Linked DNA regions of Homo sapiens: region 1 is linked to region 2. Evidence: promoter capture Hi-C in 16 types of primary human blood cells and fetal thymus (Javierre and others, 2016). All regions are on one chromosome and are shown on one strand. The core of a region is centred on a gene start or on the middle of the fragment in contact, and the rest is flanking DNA. Distances in the headings are between cores, read along the strand shown.

Evidence for each region. Contacts are between HindIII fragments. The CHiCAGO score rates a contact against its expected background, and 5 or more counts as called.
Region 1: a fragment that was not itself captured here is called in contact with the fragment with the promoter of SOCS1 in region 2 in 6 of 17 cell types (activated CD4 T cells, M0 macrophages, total CD4 T cells and 3 more); the score reaches 11.0 in activated CD4 T cells.

What each region holds. Positions count from the first base shown.
Region 1 is chr16:10,981,523-10,987,989 of GRCh38, forward strand. CLEC16A (C-type lectin domain containing 16A) reads left to right here. Exons shown (of 24, transcript NM_015226.3): 10 at 1,356-1,469. Among named protein-coding and RNA genes, the nearest start is that of CLEC16A, 40 kb to the left of the region's middle. RefSeq lists a silencer at 448-517. The HindIII fragment of the contact is 1,125 bases long and covers 2,776-3,900 here.
Region 2 is chr16:11,252,529-11,259,337 of GRCh38, forward strand. SOCS1 (suppressor of cytokine signaling 1) reads right to left here and starts at 3,676. Exons shown (of 2, transcript NM_003745.2): 1 at 3,551-3,676; 2 at 1,889-3,000. The coding sequence starts at 2,950. The coding sequence ends at 2,315. The region is part of intron 1 of LOC105371082 (a long non-coding RNA gene); the gene reads left to right. RefSeq lists enhancers at 1,542-1,711, 6,223-6,452 and silencers at 2,322-2,411, 2,822-2,971, 2,982-3,031, 3,132-3,871, 4,122-4,321. The HindIII fragment of the contact is 18,048 bases long and covers 1-6,238 here.

The sequences.
Region 1 (6,467 bases), core at 2,088-4,587, 270 kb before region 2:
TTAGAATAATATATTCCCCTTGTTCAAACAGTACAAAACATGGCATGTGAAAAGTCTCTCTCACTCTATACCCTGAGCACCCAACTGCACTCCCCAGAGGCAGCCTGTGTTGATTTTTGCCTTCACTTTTTAAAAAATAATTTTTTTTAAACAACGTTTTTTAAAGTTAAAAAGTTCAAACATGTAAAAACCGGGTTTCTGTTCTAGTTTTGTTCAGGCTCCTGACTTCTATCCCCAGAGACAATTAGGGTTACAGGGTTCTCGTATGTCCTAACAGAGACATCTGTCAGGGGTTCTTAACTAGGGGCAATTTTGCCCCTCAGGGGATACCTGGCAGTGTCTGGGGAGATGCATTCAGTTGTCATGACCGAGGCTGGGGTGCTACTGACATCTAGTGGGTGGAGGTCAGGGATGCTGCTCACCAGCCTGCAGTGTCTGGGACAGCCTCCCTCCATACTCAGTTATAGCCCAAATTGTCAGCAGTGCCAAGATTGAGAAACCCTGGCCTATGCATATGTAAATAAGCAAATACAAACATGCACACGCTTTTCTATGCAAATGGTAGATAAGCCACACCCTGTGCTACACCCTCTTGCCTTTACATTTTAAAACAAAATAGCAGGCATGTCTAGGCCAGCTTTGCAAGACAGTTTTGAATACCCTGATTCTTAAAGCTGGTCCTCTGAACATTGGGCAACAGGTGTGGGAGCAGGGCCAGCTTAGCCCAGAGGCAGCCCTCTGATTTTGCATCCTGGCCCACCTGGGTTTGCCTCTGTCTCGTGTGATTTTCAGCCCCGTAGTTCACATACCTCCTGACGATGCTGTGGAATCCCCGTGTGCTAAAACCCACCACAGGGTCAGAGCTCCCTCCCGTGATGGAATCTCTGTGTAGCCAACCCTCTGCCAAGTCCTTGATTGGAACAAAACTCTCCGGCCCCTTCTTCTTGTATCACTAAAGTATTGGGACAGTGCCTTCTAGTCTTCTCATAACCAAATTTGACACTAAAATGCCCATGGAAAGGAAGGAGTGTGCTGGTTTGGCTGTTCTTTCCCGCATTGCTCCACTTCAGCCGGATTTGGCTTCACCCAGCCATGAGGGACAGTCTCGCATTAATGCACTTCCTTCCGAGGAAGAGCAGCCAGCCAAATAGGCAACAGTCTGAAGGAGAGACTGACCTTACAAGAGTGGAACCGAGTCCTGCTTCCTGTGGCTCATTCTTTGAATTTTGCATCGTAGGAATTGCTGCTTAATACAGGACTTAGGTAGCCCAGCCTGGTCGCTTCTGATCCAGGAAGCAAGAGGTTGAAAATACCGCACACTTTCATGCAAATCCCGTTTCTTTTTTTTCCGCCAGGTCTTCTTAATTATACATCATGCACCGCTGGTGAACTCGTTAGCTGAAGTCATTCTGAATGGTGATCTGTCTGAGATGTACGCTAAGACTGAACAGGATATTCAGAGAAGTTCTGTAAGTCATTAGCTTCGGGACTGACCTTAACAGGAAACCATTGCTCATTTTGCTAATCTGTGTGTTTCTCTAAAATCAGAAACTAACATTCTGAATATATAGCAGTGATGATGCATAAGCTGGTCCGGGATTCAGTGAACCTAATCAGAGTCTTGATTGCATACCCAAGAGAAGCTGGGATCAGGGACCACCTGGATTTGATTGATTGTGTGTTCTTAAACATGGAATTGTACCACTCCGGGCCTTAGGTTGCATATCTGTGAGACACTGTTATCGGGACACAGTGAGAAAATGCCTTATCAGAGGAACTAATGTCTACAGAAGTTGGGCGATGAACATCCATGAATGACTCAGGCCCCAGGTGAGGGCAGTAGAGAGTGGCGAGGGGTGTGGCAAATTGGAGAGTGTATGCCACCTTGGCGAGCAGCTCCTGTTCTACCCCAGGCTGCTGCTGTTCTGCAGGAATATGGATGTAGGATTACTAGGTTTTTTCATGTTTCTAGAGAAGCGGGAAAAACGCATTGTTACGTGTAATCTCTAGTTTTAAATGATCATCAAGCTTTGGACTAAGTAGCATGTTTGTGGTCTGCAGGAAGGAGCTTTGGCGTTCCATTTGGTACACTGCTGAGGGAAAACACCTGATGGCCAGTGTTGTGACTTCTCTTGAAGCTTTTCCATCTTGTCCTCTGTATATCTCTGCTGTCATCTCTCAGATCCTGCTCACATGTCCTGAGCTCCAGCTGCCTTAATCCTGGTCTGACTTGCTTTTCCCCCAGCATGTCCAGCATTTGTGCCTTTGAACCTGCGCCTTTACCGTACCTACAGCCTGGTTCCTGATGCACCTGGTTCCCTCTTTTCAAAGGTCTTACCCACTCTAAGCTCCTTATGGCAGGGATCTCACCTGTCACTGAATCAGCTGCAGTCTGGGCTGCACAAATGCTCATCTCACTTATGCGGAGCCCAGGCTGCAGCTGATTCAGTGACAGGTGAGATCCCTGCCATAAGGAGCTTAGAGTGGGTAAGTGAGATGAGCATAGTGCGTTTTATACAAGGGCTGTTTCATAAAGGTTTCCTCTCTGCAGCCAGGTGCTCAGGCAGTGGCCAGGCTGGTAAAAGGGCCAGCTCGCCCTGGGGTAGTAGATTTGCTGCCCCACCTACATGAATGGGTGGAATGTGACCCTGTGGATGAAAGGCCACCACTGCATGGAGTACAATTACAAGAGGCCCCTGCCCTTCCACTGGTTTTGGTGTATGATGGTCTGGCCAGGTCATTTTGTTATTCAGGGGAGCATTAGCGCCTCTGAAAAGCTTCCCAGAAACTCTGTCCTTGTTAGTGGTGGTGGCATTAGTGAATTGATTGGGGCCTTTTCATGGCCCCTGTCTGGCCTATCCCTTTCTTGATTCATTCAGCAGTGTTGATGGAGCTCTTTCTTTGGGCCAAGTATCATGCTAGTTCTGGGGATACACAATGTCATAAAGAGTCTGTGCCGTATTCGAGCTTTACAGTACAGTAGAGAGGTGGACATGGATCAGATATGCAAATAACTCACTGTCTTAACTCTTATAAGCGCTCTAAAGGGAAGAAGTGTTTGGTGAGAGGCTTTGGCCTAGAGGTGACAGGGGTGATGTGTTAAAGATTTTCCTAGTGGTCCATCTCATGACAACACACGGTCTGGCAAATGTACAGCTGACTCAGAGTTTATGGGGCCCTAGATATTTCTCTGCAACTTTCTTAAACTAGCGTTTGCTAAATGAATGTAAGTCACGGAAGGCTGAGTCAGCAGAATCAGCAGGGCCTCCAGTTAGAGGTGCAGAGTGCCCTGCCAGCCACCTGGTCTCGGGCAGGTTGTTTCACTCCATTTAGAAAACAGGCAGCGCAAGCCCTGCTCTAGAGAGCTGATGGAGATGGGGGCAAAATATAAAGTGCCCGCTGGGCACGGTGGCTCACCCCTGTAATCCCAGCACTTTGGGAGGCCGAGGCGGGCAGATCACCGGGTCAGGAGATCGAGACCATCCTGGCTAACACGGTGAAACCCCGTCTCTACTAAAAATACAAAAAAAATTGGCCGGGCATGGTGGCAGGCGCCTGCAGTCTCAGCTACTCGGGAGGCTGAGGCAGGAGAATGGCGTGAACCCAGGAGGCGGAGCTTGCAGTGAGCTGAGATTGCGCCACTGCACTCCAGCCTGGGCGACAGAGCAAGACTCCATCTCAAAAAAAAAAAAAAAAAAATATATATATATATATAGTGCCCATCAAGTGCCTGCTGGGTTGCAAACTGGCCACCAGACTCATTTGGTTTGGTCTTTGCAGTATTTAAAAGAAAATTTTCTGAATTGCCAACATTAAAATTTAGGAAGAAAAGTCCAGATTTTTGGAATCTTCTCCAACAGTCAGAAGATCTGGTCCCCATCAATGCACGTTTCTACGGGAAGCTTCGCAGAGCCTGCCCCCATCAGATGAGGCGTGTTTACCGTGAAACCTGCCCACTGCTAACTGGGACTACATTGATGTTAATATGTTAATAGCAACTGGAGATGTACTGGGTCCCTCGGGACTTTTTTTTTTTTTTAGTTGCATGATTTCCAAGCCTGAGGATAGCTGCCGTGGCTTCATCTCAGATTGTCTTACTGTAAGATACCCTCTGCAGTGCTGAAGCTAGACTTGTCGTTCTAAGAGATGAAACCAGAGATTGCTGGGCTCTGGGGTTTGCAGCATTGTTTATTTATTTTTATTTATTTATTTATTTTGAGATGGAGTCTCTGTCGCCCAGGCTGGAGTGCAGTGGCGTGATCTCGGCTCACTGCAGCCTCTGCCTCTGGGTTCAAGCGTCAGCCTCCCAAGTAGCTGGGATTACAGGCATGTGCCACCACGCCCAGCTAATTTTTGTATTTTTAGTAGAAATGGGCTTTCACCATGTTGGCCAGGCTGCTCTTGAACTCCTGAGCTCAACTGATCTGCCTGCCTTGGCCTCCCAAAGTGTTGGGATTACAAGTGTGAGACACTGCACCTGGCCTGCAGAATTTTTTTTTTTTTTTTTTTTTTTTTTTTTTTTTTTTGAGACTGAGTCTCGCTCTGTCGCCCAGGCTGGAGTACAGCGGCACGATCTCAGCTCACTGCAAGCTCTGCCTCCCGGGTTCACGCCATTCTCCTGCCTCAGCCTCCCAAGTAGCTGGGACTACAGGCGCCTGCCCCCACACCCGGCTCATTTTTTGTATTTTTAGTAGAGACGGGGTTTCACTATGTTAGCCAGGATGGTCTCAATCTCCTGACCTCGTGATCCACCCGCCTCAGCCTCCCAAAGTGCTGAGATTACAGGCATGAGCCGGCCTGCTGCATTTTTAGAGTTGTGATAAGAACACAACATGAGATCTACCCTTTTAACACATTTTTATTTGTATGGTTAACATTATTGTTGAGTGTAGGCACAGCATCATTCAGCAGATTTCTAGATCTCATTTATCTTGCATACTGAAACTTCAGAAGTACAATGTGCTATCCATTGCTCTGTGGAGTCACCTGCATGACTGATACTTCATACCCACTGGACAACAACTCTCCATCCCCCCAGCCCCAGCAATCACCATTCTCCTCTCTGCATGAGTTTGACAATTTTAGATACCTCGTATAAGTAGAATCGTGCAGCATTTGTCTTTGTCACTGGCTCATTTCACTTAATGTAATGTCCTCGAGATTCATCCATGTTGTCGCATATATCAGAATTTATTTCTTTAAGGCTCAATGTGTGTGTGTGTGTGTGTGTGTGTGTGTGTACCAAGAAATATACCACATTTTCTTTTTCTTTCTTTATCCATTTATCCATCATTATGCAGTTTTAGTTTTTTTGATTTTTTTTTTGGTGTGTTTTGTTTTGTTTTGTTTTTGACAGAGTCTGGCTCTGTCGCCCAGGCTGGAGTACAGTAGCGTGATCTCGGCTCACTGCAACCTCTGTCTCCAGGGTTCAAGTGATTCTCGTGCCTCAGCCTCCGAATAGCTGGGACTACAGGCATGCACCACCACACCCAGCTAATTTTGTTTGTATTTTTAGTAGAGATGGGATTTTACCATGTTGGCCAGGCTGGTCTTGAACTTCTGGCCTCAAGTGATCTGCCCGTCTTAGCCTCCCAATGTGCTGGGATTACAGGTGTGAGCCACTGCACCCAGCTTTTATGCAGTTTTTTTTTTAATTGAAATTTTTTACTGAGATAATTATAGATTTGCGTGCAGTTGTAACAGATAATACAGAGAGATCTTCCTCAGTTTCCCCCAGTGGTAACATCTTGCAAAACTCTAGTACACCCTCACAAGCAGGATATTGACAGTGATACATAGGATTTATGTTTGAGCAAAAGCAAACTGCGGGTTACTGGCAACCTCTCAGTTTAGGACACTGGCTGTAGCTCAACCATTTAGTCAGGGGAAGTGTTTAGGAGATCTGTCCTCTCTCCTGATATGGCCTCTTCTTAGGATGAAGGTCTCACCTCCCTTGTGAGAGACACACAAACTGCCTTTGGGATGTAAGAGCCAGTTGTGGTGGACACCTGAACTGAAAATGAGACTCTGTAGCGTGGAGGGAATTGCTAGCCCACATGTGTCGGCTTTCTGCTTCCAGTTACTACCTTTCTCTCAGTGTGAAGTTGAAGTTGGTTGTAATCTGATGACTATCGTTCAGGTTTGGGAAGAGCACAGGCTGAATTCCTTCTGTGACTTGTTTGATAATAGTCCTGGTACGATTTACCTTCCTTCCCTATGAGCGAGAACAGACTCCTATTGTTTCCTGCCCAACTCGGATGTGGTTTGATTATACTTGTTTTAAGTTTCTTGGTCTTTTTTAACCTACTTTCTCCTTCCCGTAATTTGTAGATAAGTTACTGGTATTGCCTCATTTTTACCAGCAGACCTTTCACAAAACCAAACCAAAATTGAAGAGAGAGAAGCAGAGGGGAGATCACAGTTATTTGAAAGGACTGTAATTTAGGGTTAAATGGAAAACACATCAG
Region 2 (6,809 bases), core at 2,426-4,925:
CGATTTTCATACTTTTTTCAAAGGAGGAAAAAAAACTGTAACATATTGCAAGCTACCTGCTAGCTGACCCCTCTTTTGAGGAGGACCTGTTTTCCCATCTGTAAAACGGGGATGTTCACAGTCCCTACATCGGAAGGCTGGGTGTGAGTTCAATGTTTTACACAGGTGATGCGGGACCTGGGAGCAGTTCCTGCACAGACAATGCTACATAGAAATATGAGCAGCTGCTATTATTACTGCAGCGGTTAGGTCCTCCGGTTGCCTAGTGGTACCCAGCCTCTGAAAAAGTCCTGAGTGGGTTTGCAAAACCTGGCTCCACCCCTTGTTGTGGTCCTGCTTTGCCTCTTGGAGCCCGTTTTCCCATCTGTAAAATGGGGCCAGCACAGCCACTGAGTGGTCACTAAGGGTCTGTGAGTATACTAGTATTACAACCAGATCCCCAAGCATTGCCATCTTGGATTTCTGTTTCTCCAGACACTGCCCACAGCAGGCAACAGACAGGAAAGAACAAGGACAGGACTTAATTAATCCACAGCAGAGAAGAAAGGGCAGGGGTGTGGCAAAAAAAAAAAAAGAAAAGAAAAGAAAAGAAAAGAAAAGAAAAAGCAAGATTTTTGGAGATAGAGACAAGACATCACCTCCTTCCCTCCCACTTCACCTTATTAAGGGATGAAATTGCCAAAGCTCTCTGAGATCCTAAATCTCTTCTGGCCATCCTTAAAGTCCTGGAGCCTACTTAATCCCCAAGACAGGCCTGGGCTGCTCTGACTCTCTGACCATCAAGTTAATTTTATGTTGTACTTTCAAGTCTGAAAAGTATTATTAAGCATTAGAACACTATTATATGTGTCTCCAAGGCTGAAGAGGGCCACTCTATCTTCTAAAGATGAAGTATGACGTGTCCACCAGGCTGCTTAACCCTAAATCTGAAAATGACTCAGTTCACCATGTGTTGAGTACAACCCTCAAGTTACCACCATGGCCCATGTGTCAGGCTGGCCAAAGACACAGAAGTTGCCAGAAACCCAGGTCCTGGACACTTTCTGGTGCTGTGGGCCAGCCCCACAAACGTCCTGGAGCCACTCTTCCCTTCCCTGGCTCCTGAAAACATCCACCTCCTCTATGATGCGCAGAAAGTTGCCCTTAGAAAGGTGGAGGCCCAGGGAGGCAAGGGGAATTGCCCTAGCCGCCAGCAGCACCCTCCCGCCACCACAGACCACACAGTCTCCTTCTGGCTCCAAGTTGTGTGTTCACCAAAAAGTACACAAGACAGAGCAGGGTGAGAAGAAGGAAGCTAGACCCAGCCCTGTATCCCCCATCTCATCTCAACTGAGTATCCCTTGATGCTGGTTCAGAATGTGCCACTCCTCTGTCCAAAAACTCACTAAGCCCCCACCCCCACCCCTTCCTGGAAGCTGTTGTGGTCATAGAACCAAAGAAGTTTCCTCTCTGTTATCCATTTCAAGCAGATGTTTAGTGGACAGCCAAAAAAAGGCCCAAGTGTTGTCTTTGACAGGAATGGCCACAGGCAGATTTACTCAGTTTTCCCTTCTGTAGAATGGAAATAAGAGCCCGTGCCTCACAGGGTTGTGCCTCTCTTTATAGGATTAAGTAAATTTAAGTATGCAAAGCACAGAATTAGGGCTGGCACGCACAAAGTGCTCAAACGCGAGCTGCTGTCTTACCGGACACACGCCAAAACTAGACCAACCGTTTCTCTCCCTGGAGAGTTGTGGGTGGAACCGTGAGGGATGCCCAGCCACAGGGCAGGCCCCGTACACCACCTGCAGCCCAGCAGGTCAGCCTTAGGACCCTCTCCCCTGGACCTGTTCAGAACCAAGTTAAACTTTTGGCCAAAGCACACTCGCTAGAAAACTTATTTTTTTTTAAAAAAAAAACTTTCATAATAAAGTTTATTACCTAAACTGACTTTAAAAAATATAAAATAGGATTCTGCACAGCAGAAAAATAAAGCCAGAGACCCTCCCCCAACCCCTGGTTTGTGCAAAGATACTGGGTATATGTAAACATGAAGAGGTAGGAGGTGCGAGTTCAGGTCCTGGCTCCAGATACAGTTAAGCTGCTACAACAACCAGGGGGACCCAGAGGGAGCACCAGGAGGGGGAGGACCCCCTCAAGAGGTGAGAAGGGGTCTGCGGCCTCGTCTCCAGCCGAGGGCGGGAGGCGCCTCGCCCCTACACCCATCCGCTCCCTCCAACCCAGGCCGGGGAGGGTACCCACATGGTTCCAGGCAAGTAATAACAAAATAACACGGCATCCCAGTTAATGCTGCGTGCACGGCGGGCGCTGCCGGTCAAATCTGGAAGGGGAAGGAGCTCAGGTAGTCGCGGAGGACGGGGTTGAGGGGGATGCGAGCCAGGTTCTCGCGGCCCACGGTGGCCACGATGCGCTGGCGGCACAGCTCCTGCAGCGGCCGCACGCGGCGCTGGCGCAGCGGGGCCCCCAGCATGCGGCGCGGCGCCGCCACGTAGTGCTCCAGCAGCTCGAAGAGGCAGTCGAAGCTCTCGCGGCTGCCATCCAGGTGAAAGCGGCCGGCCTGAAAGTGCACGCGGATGCTCGTGGGTCCCGAGGCCATCTTCACGCTAAGGGCGAAAAAGCAGTTCCGCTGGCGGCTGTCGCGCACCAGGAAGGTGCCCACGGGCTCGGCGCGCAGCCGCTCGTGCGCCCCGTGCACGCTCAGGGGCCCCCAGTAGAATCCGCAGGCGTCCAGGAGCGCGCTGGCGCGCGTGATGCGCCGGTAATCGGCGTGCGAACGGAATGTGCGGAAGTGCGTGTCGCCGGGGGCCGGGGCCGGGACCGCGGGGCACGGCCGCGGGCGCGCGGGGGCCGCGGGCGAGGAGGAGGAAGAGGAGGAAGGTTCTGGCCGCCGTCGGGGCTCTGCTGCTGTGGAGACTGCATTGTCGGCTGCCACCTGGTTGTGTGCTACCATCCTACAGAAGGGGCCAGCCGGAGGGGTGGGCCATAGCGTCCGGGGGTGCGCTGCGGGAGAGACAAAGAGGTGAGCTGGGGCGCTGCGGGGCCGGGCAGGTGTGCGCCGGCCGGACAACTCCGGAGGGCGGCGCTCCCGGCGGACCCGGCCCTAGGGGGCGAGCACGGAGCACCAAGTCCGCGCGGATCCGTTCAGCCTCAGTGGACACAGCTAGAAAATGGGCTCTGTACTCCGCGGAGCTCTTCCCGGCGGGTGGGGGCTCGGTGGAGGCGGAGTCCGGCCTCCGGGCAGCACCGAGAGGGGGGCGTGGAGAGCAGCCGGTTCTGGCTCCAGCCGTCCGGCCCCGGCTCGCCGCCCCGCGCCCGCCGCCTGCTGGCCAGGCTGGGATCCGCGCCTGGTCTGGGCGATTTGGGCTAGGGCCGGAGAAAGGCTGTGCTGCGGGAGCCCCGCGCGCGGGGGGCGGCCTGGGTGGGGCCGGCGAGGGTCAGGGGCATCGCGGCCGCGACCCCATTCTGCAGCCCCCGAGGCTCGCCCGACTCCTGGCTGCCCTGGACTCCCCTCCCTCCTCCCTCCCGCCTCCTCGCCCAGGGCCCGGCTCACCTGGCGGCGGGGCGCGGGACGCCGCGGGCGGGACGGCGGGGGGCTCCGGGGCGCTCCGGGGCGGCTCTCGCGCATGCTCCGGGGCCAGGAGCCGTGCAGCTGCCACGGCCGCAGCTCGCTCTGTTCGGCGCCCGCCCCTGCGCCAGTCTTTTAAACCGGCTCGGAGGCGGGGCTGGCGACGGCGGGAGGCCCCGCCCCCTGCCGGCCCCGCCCCCAGCTCCACTTTTGGTTTCTCTTTCCGCGGTGGCGTCCGGCGAGGACCGCTTCGGCCCTGTTTCCCTCTCTTCTGGACCCTCCCGCGGGGCCCTCTGCCCGCCTGTTCGCACCTGCCCCAGCACCCGCCTCTCGAGGGGCTCTGGCCCCGACCCTGCGCCTTCCGGCCACTTCTCGGACCCCTCCTTCGGACTTGGCGACCCCGATTTTGCCCCGCTACCTCGGGTTCCACTTTCTGCCGCCAGGCCCTCTTGGGACGCGCCCTGACACACCCTCCTCCGCCCCAGCTGTCTCCACACCCGCCGGGGGCAGAGCCCTGTCCTCTCCTCCCCTGCAGCCAGATCCCCCTAGGAGGCCACAGAAGGTGTCCCCAACCCTGAGCCTGACCCCACCCGTAGACCCCCTCCTAGCCCCTGCTCCACCCGCCGTCGACGCCCTCAGTCGCCCGCCCTGCTGTCCCGAAGCCCCGGCCGGCCGCGGTCTCTGGTCTTGGCTCGGGCTTCCCGGGAAGCGGCGGCCTGACCACAGGCTTCAGAGGAACCCCTGGCGGCGCGGGCGCCTCCACCCCGGCCCAGTTCCTCGGAAACTGGGCGGGGCCGGGCAAGGTCCCTGGTGGCCTCGACTGCCCTCCCTGCGCTCCCACTACCCGGCTGCGGAAGAAACTGAGGCTGGGGAGGGGCTGGGATTTGCAATGGCTTGCAGATTGGGAGCTCTGGACCTGGATCTCGCCTTCCCCGTCTTCATTTTGGGGAGAGGTGCAGCTGGACGACATCAAATTGGAGCCCAGTGAAAAAATGGTGCATTCTCAGACGTGATGAATCCCCAAACCTGGTTTCCTAGCCCTCCTCTCCCCCGACCCCTTCCTCATAGATTTCCCCCTCCTACTGCTCCGTCAGGCATCTGCCCTTCAAAGACTGCCTTCCCACCACACACACGGCCGGGGCTTGGGATGGTGGGCGGTCGGTGGTCGGGGCTGTAATTTGCACACGTGTTTGTGATTTAGTGATTCCGATTGTCGTGCGAGGCCATGGAGTAGGTGCCTGGCTGCTCCGTGTATTTTTGAATGAAGGCATGTGAGGAGCCCCAGCATCACAAGGGGCCACATAAAAACCTGGCTAGGCTGGGCACTTGGTTACTGGCCTCACACTGGGACACACTGCCCTCTACAGACAGCTCTCAGACGGCTTCTCTCCTGGAAGCCCTGGTGCCCAGTCCCTTCCCGCCTCCCTGGCCCCACGATACCTCTTTCCCCAGGCAGAGCCTAGGTCCTTATTAACCTCCTGAACACAGGGAGTGGCCCAGAATCAGCCCAGCTTAGCACCCCATCAGTGCCCTGAATCTGCATGTGGCCAGGGCTGGTGGTGGTCATTGGTGTAGCCTCCTAGGTTGTGCGTGTGTGTGCGTGCGCGTGCGTGAGGGGGTGAGAGAAGATGCAGAACCTTGCCTGCACCAGAGGTCAGGTGTGTGATCATTCGAGAGATGTCCACTGAACATCTGCTGGAGGCCACACTCTGTGGAGGGTGATGGAATACAAGGAGACCCAGTTCCAAATCTGCACCTTTCTATTCTTGTGACCTTGAGCATGTAATTAACCTCTCTGCCATGGTTTCTTTATCTGTGAAATGGGGATAATAATAGTACCTCTAGCAGGGCGCAGTAGCTCATGCCTATAATCCCAGCACTTGGAAGGCCAAGACAGGAGGATTGCTTGAGCCCAGGAGTTTGAGAACAGCCTGGGCAACAAAGTGAGACCCCCTCTCTACAAAAAAAAAAAAAAAAAAAAAAAAATAGTACAAAAATCAGCCAGTCGTAGTGGATTGCACCTGCAGTCCCAGCTACTTGGGAGGCTGAAGCAGGAGGATTGCCTGAGCCCAGGAGGTCAAGGCTGCAGTGAGCCACGATTGTGTCACTGCACTCCAGCCGGGGCAACAGACTAAGACCCTGTCTCAAAAAAAAATAAATAAATAGTACCTCCATCCCGGGGTTGTATGGGAATTAAATGAGTGATTATGGGTCAGGTGCTTAAAACAGCCCGTAGTGTCTAATAAGCAGTCGGTAGATGTTTGTTGTTCATCTGAGGGTGCCTGTGGGTGTGGCAGTGTGTTGGAGCCCACAGACGCATGGCTTCAACCCCTGTGTCCATTTTTTTAAAGAGATGGAGTGTAGCTCTGTTGCTCAGGCTGGAGTGTAGTGATAGGATCGAGGAGGCACTATAGCCTCGACCTCCTGGGCTCAAGAGATTCTCCCATCTCAGCCTCCTGAGTAGCTGAGACTACAGGCACATGCCACCACACCCGGCTAATTTTTTAAATTTTTTGTAGGGATGGGGTCTCACTACGTTGCCCAGGCTGGTCTCGAACTCCTGTCCTTTAGTGACCCTCCTGCCCTGGCTTCCCAAAGCACTGCCTTATATCTATGTTTGAAGCCCTAGTCCAGGGACCACAGGCCAGGGAAGGCACAGCAAGGGAGCAGGAAAGCTTCTAAAGGTACACTCAGCACACGTGGGTTCTCCTCACTGCCACCAGTGACAGACAGCTTTGGTTTCATTTTCTGAAGTCCTGTGTTCAAAATGAAACCAAATCCAGATGCCGAAAGAGAAAAGGAAATCTGCTGGTTGACAAGCATCCACCTTGTGGGCTGTTCTGCTGGAGGGCTGGGCACCAGGCTCACAGGAAGCCAGGCAGTGCGAAACCCTGAGGGGCTCAGAGTGCTCGGTAGGATGGGACCAGGCTCTGACCCCAGACCTGCTGCATGACCTTGGGCAAGTGACCTGTCCTCTTGGGACCTGATTTGCCCCAACTGCAAAGTGATCTCTGGACATCTCGTACCTCACAGAGCAGCCAGACATGCAGAGCCAAGGGCAAAATGCCAGGCATGGAGTCGGTGCTTGGCACAATGACCTCTTGTCACAGGGCGGATGGACCAGCCCTATATCCACAGCTTACTAAACCACAGCCACAGCCAGATGTGTGGAAACATTCTCCTCCCTATCTTGGCAGATCCTCGTACCCCAAATGTGAGGGGCCCAGCCAGCATCTGGGGGAAG